Regions from separate parts of the Homo sapiens genome. Here region 1 is linked to region 2. The links are contacts of gene promoters, found by promoter capture Hi-C in human tissues and cell types (Jung and others, 2019). All regions are on one chromosome and are shown on one strand. The core of a region is centred on a gene start or on the middle of the fragment in contact, and the rest is flanking DNA. Distances in the headings are between cores, read along the strand shown.

Region 1 (2,700 bases), core at 28-2,527, 260 kb before region 2:
AAATTGCCCTCCTTGTGTACAGCAGTATGATAAACCACATATAGAAGCCTTTTCTTTCTCAGACTTGAATGTCTTGGCTTGGTAACAGAAAGGAGCAATTAGCAGCTGTACAGACATAGTCAAATTGTACAACTATCTGAATCTTAGTTCTCCCAGTTAATAAGCTTTTGGGATTATTGTGGCAGCAAAATGAGATAATGTTTATAAAGTATATGACCCATAGTAGGCTTACAAAAAGTAGTAGCTATTATTATTGCTATCATTGCTTACTTTTGAAACGCAAGGTGCTAAATGGTTATAAACCACTGTTTTCAAGCCTAGCAGCATAGATTAGAAGCCTTTATTTCCCTTTACTAGCTACATATCCTTGAGTATTTGCTAAACCTCTCTAATCTTTGATTTCTTCATCCATAAAAGAAGGATAATAAATATTACCTACTTCACAAGGTTGTTTTAAACATTAAATGAAATGAAATACATGAAGTGTTCACAACAGTGTTTGAAAAATTGTGAGCACGAAGTCAATGTTTGCTATTATCGGCAGTAGTTGTAGCGTGGAAAGAGTGGATTTTCAAAAATGAGTTTATTTTGATTGAGAACTCAAATGTTTTATACATGCAGCCACTCAACTGGGCAATTTCGGTGATAGCAGGTACTGGCTGAACATGTCAGTTCACTCAACAGGAGAGATTCTGCTTTTGAGTTTCTTGCCTCACATTAAAAAAGGTGTTTCCATTCCAACTCTGACCCATCTTCCTGGTTAAGACAGACAAACAGGCAGACTGATACCTCTCTCATTAACATGTTTCTATATTCTTTGAGTATAGCCAAGTGGAGATTATATGAATCCTCATAGAGTTTCTCTTTCCTCCACATTGTGGTCCCCAGTTGCACAATGAGTGTTAAGTGGCTGAATGAACAACTCTACAACCATTGAAAGAAAGTTGCTGAGGGGGATGCAGTAATGGATTCTATAGTTGTACCCTGGACTCACACAGCATCGGGTTCAAACCTGGCTATCCCACTTACAACTCATGGCCTTACACAAGTTACTTAAATATCCAAACATCGGTTTTCTTTCAAGTAGAATGTTAGTATAGGTTATAGTCTCTTATCCAAAATCCTTAAGGTGAAATGGGTTCTGAGATTGAGGCTTTTTCAGATTTTAGAATGTTAATGAGAAATATTCTGTATATTATGTGACATCCCAGCCAGAGTCTCCAGCAGTTCCCTTTAATAAAGCATGCTAATATTTCAGCAGATAATGTAGGATTATTCACATTATTACATAAATAAACAACAATTTGCCACCAGTTGAGTTCAGGTGAGGTCATATTCTGCTACCAAATGAATTAGAAAATCAGCTTCCAAGTTGTAGTGGTTTTTCAATTTCAGTATTGCAGGAAAAGTACTGTGAATTTGAAATATTTGTTCCTGCCTCTACGGTGTTTTGGAACCCATTAAACAAAATTGTCACAATAAAGTGACTCTAAGTGATATTGGAGTATGAAGCCATACTCTCTAAAGAAAGAGTATTTATAACCCCAGGGACACTCAAAGACATAGAGTGACGTTTTCATACAGCAAATTCTCATGCAATTGTCTTTACATGCTCTCTTTTAATTGTATGTTAGTACTTTGTCAACTAATTCTTCTTAACTCAGCTTAAGTTCCCTGGTTCTTCATTATAATCACTCCCTTGCATTCCCCCATTTCCTTTGCCCCCTCCTGCTCAATGTTCTCCCTTGTAAAAAGACTAATCCTGATTAAATCCTACTCTTGCACCCACTTTGTGATTTCATTCCCACAGCTGAACATTGCTGGAGTAAACAATACAATCACACTGAATGGTCCGATGTTGAATTCATAACTTTGAATTCAGGTACACCCAGAGAGCTTTCTGGCTCTGCCACTCAGATCCCTTTACCTTCTCATTCTTCTATCTTCTAAAGGACTCTTTTTTTCATCTCCCTTGAAACCTATACTTGTACCCCCATCCTTTTTCTCAGATGATGGTCCTACTTTCTATTTCAATGGGAAAACAGAAGCACTCAGAGAGAAGCTTTCGTAAGCTCCCAGCACCACATCTACCCAATTATCTGCATCTATGCCTAAATTCTCTGCTGTCCTCCAGCTATAAAGGAAGTTGGCTGCCCTGGGCACAATCCTTAGATCATTTCTTCTCTACATCTAGGTTCTTTTCCTGGGTGAATGCAAATGGCTCCTCAACATCTCCACTTGGACATCTACTAGGCACTATAAACTCAAGCCATCCAAACTATACCCCGCATTTCCCCTCAACAAATCTGTTATCCCTCATTGCTGGAAATAGCATCTCCATTTTTGCAGTGTCTCAAATTTGAAAACTTCTATAATACTTAATTTCTGTTTCTCCCCTACCATACATCTCATTCCATCATCAGATCCTGTCAGTTCAAATTTCAGCATGTATTCAGACAACAAGCACTTCTTATCAGCTCCAAGGTCCCATTCTAATCCAAACCACCACCATCTCAAATTAACGCAATAGCCACCTAACTGCTTTACATGATTCCTTGCTTGCCCTGTATTGTCTGCTTCTTCTTGACAATCACCAAAGTGATGCTTTCAAAACCTGCCAAACAACAGTCTCTTCTGATCAAAACCCTCAAGGAGTTTACTCAGGGAAAAAGACAAGTTTCCCACAAGGTCTGCACCATT
Region 2 (2,700 bases), core at 17-2,516:
TCTGAATTCATACTCTTTATTTTAAAGTTGCAGTGTCGTGTATACAGATGTAAAAGAGAGCTTTGGAATCAGTGAGGCCTGGATCCAAACCCCATCTCTGCTTTCCACCAGCTGTGCGACCTTGGGCAAATGTCCTAGTCTCTCTGAACCTCACTTTCTTCTTCTGTAAAAGGAAAATAATGGTACTACTTTGCAGGAATGCTGAGGTTTACAAATAGCATATGCCAAGTATCTGGCACATGTTAGGTGCAAAATAAATGGTTTTGCTTACACTTAGATAAAATGACTTTTGTTCTATGAAATGGAGCTAATGATTAGGTTTTATGGAAAGGCTTTATTTATTTATTTTATGATTAGGTTATACAAAAATGCTTTATTTCACCTGGAAGCTTACCTGGGTGTCATTTTATGGTTGTCTCATCTGACCATTTTTAAACCATGGTTGGATCTTGTGGAAATGTTTAGAGCTCGTTATGAAGCCAATGTAAACAAAGGTACCTATCAGCTGTTGCAGACACTATCCCATCCACAGGGGCACCCCTGACATAGCTGTAGCCCAACTTCACCCTGAAGTCTTGGAAAGGTTACATGATTCAGACAGATGTAGTAGGCATGAGATTACAGGCCAAGAGGAAGAGGCCGGGGCTGTAGGCAGTATACTTGACAGGCTCATACACTGCAAGCCTTGTTCCGGGCCCCTTACAAAGCACCTCTTTAGGATGAAAACAAGATGGTCTTTGTAAATAAAAGTTCATGCATTTGGGTAATGAAGTCATTTTCCAGCGCTGCAGTGAAAGATATTCTTCTCCCAAGCCCTCTGGGTGAGGACTGGAGGGAGGAAGAGGGGTGGCCAGTGAATCTGAAGAGAAGATATTAGCACAAAGAGTGCAACAGTCTATCCCCCAGAAAAAACCCGAGAAACCTTGCTCAAGAAAGTGGGCACCCTGACCCTCTGCCTTCAGAGATCATCTACCTTTGGTTCCTGCCCTGGAATCCCTTTTCCACCCACTTTCCTGCAAACTAGCGGGGGCCACATAAAATATCTATGTAAATATAGATAAGACATCCGGTACCTTGACTACATAAATAAGAGTGGTGAGGAAGCGTCACAAAAGCTGAATATTCTTCTGGAGCCCTTGGAGGGGCTCCAAACTGAGAGGGGAGGGAAGACCGCAGGGAAAGGCGGACCTCAGTGTCTGAAAAGCCAGCTTAGAGTGGGAGGGCCTGGGAGTAGAAGGTAAAAAGGGAGTGGTGAGAATGAATGTGAGAAGGAAGCCAGGACAGCGCAGTCCCCAGTCCCGAACGGCCAGGGAGAGGAGGTGGCCTAGCGCTGGCGGGGCTCACCCCAATCCGTCTGCCTTTTGATGCCGTACTGTAAGCTCCGTCCATCTGTAGGTTCTTGAGCCAGAACCTCTGCGGGAAGGAGAAAAAGTGAAAGAGGGAGAGGGAGAGGGAGAGAGAGGGGGAGAAGGGGAGAGAGAGAGAGGGAGAGAGAGGCTGGAACTCTCCCTTACTCTCGCACTTTCCCTTTATTTCCTAAGCTGCTGGTTGCGCAGCCACCTCGGGATACTGCACACGGAGAGGAGGGAAAATAAGCGAGGCACCGCCGCACCACGCGGGAGACCTACGGAGACCCACAGCGCCCGAGCCCTGGAAGAGCACTACTGGATGTCAGCGGAGAAATGGCTTTGAGCTCAGCCTGGCGCTCGGTTCTGCCTCTGTGGCTCCTCTGGAGCGCTGCCTGCTCCCGCGCCGCGTCCGGGGACGACAACGCTTTTCCTTTTGACATTGAAGGGAGCTCAGCGGTTGGCAGGCAAGACCCGCCTGAGACGAGCGAACCCCGCGTGGCTCTGGGACGCCTGCCGCCTGCGGCCGAGGTACAGTGTCCCTGCCATTGCCACCCTGCTGGGGCACCTGCGCCCCCGCGGGCTGTGCCACACTCGTCCTTCTCTCTCTCTCCGCCTCTTTCCTCTCCCCAGTGCCTTGAGAGTTTCACCTGGGCTAGGTCAGTTCGGAAACTTGAAATAAAGAGTTTTCCTTTGTAAGTTGCATTTGGATGTTGAGAGTTGAAAGTTGAGGCTTCGGAATGTGTCTGCTCAAAGGGGTGAGAGTGCATGTGTTGGTGCTCTGAGTTCATCCGCTAGACTCTCACCGGGGACTGCAGCAGCACATCGGTGACTTCTGCCACTTGCGTGTCCCAGTAGTCATTTTGTCAAGCCACGGCACTTAACGTGTGTGCCCTGTCACTGGCTTCCTGCTCCTCTGTGCTGTTAGGACAGTGGGAACACTACTGCAGGATCTTTTTGTCTCATATTAGACAAGAAGTCTTCTGCAGCAGGGAAGGTGAGGGGGTGAGTGAGAGTGGCTGGTCATGAAAGGAGCTGTTAGACAACTGCTGAGAGGGTATCTTAAGTAGAAACGAGCCATTGTATTCCAGAAACAAGATGTTTCCATTAAAATCAAGCCTCAGGATATGCTATTGATAATATGTTTATTCAAAGAGCTGCTGTTTGAATACCTTACAATAGCTTTTAAGTTGGAAACAAAACCAGAATGTAGAGGTCTGGTAAAGGAGAATGAATCCAGAACAAGTGATTTAAGAACCCCTGAACTGAAACAGACAACAGCATGCCCATTGCATGGGACATGCTAAGAGGGAGGAAAATAAAGTCACCTAAGTTCATGGGAAAGGAAGGAGCA

Evidence for each region. Contacts are between HindIII fragments. The study calls those that stand out against the background at their distance.
Region 1: a contact is called between a fragment that was not itself captured here and the fragment with the promoter of LAMA4 in region 2, in 1 of the 25 tissues and cell types used here (IMR-90 fibroblasts).

Annotation. Positions count from the first base shown.
Region 1 is chr6:112,513,952-112,516,651 of GRCh38, reverse strand. No RefSeq gene overlaps it. Among named protein-coding and RNA genes, the nearest start is that of RFPL4B, 170 kb to the right of the region's middle. The HindIII fragment of the contact is 5,625 bases long and covers 1-2,700 here.
Region 2 is chr6:112,253,133-112,255,832 of GRCh38, reverse strand. It overlaps LAMA4 (laminin subunit alpha 4), which reads left to right and starts at 1,266. Exons shown (of 39, transcript NM_001105206.3): 1 at 1,266-1,374; 2 at 1,542-1,877. The coding sequence starts at 1,683. All of the region lies in intron 2 of LAMA4-AS1 (LAMA4 antisense RNA 1), which reads right to left. The HindIII fragment of the contact is 9,361 bases long and covers 1-2,700 here.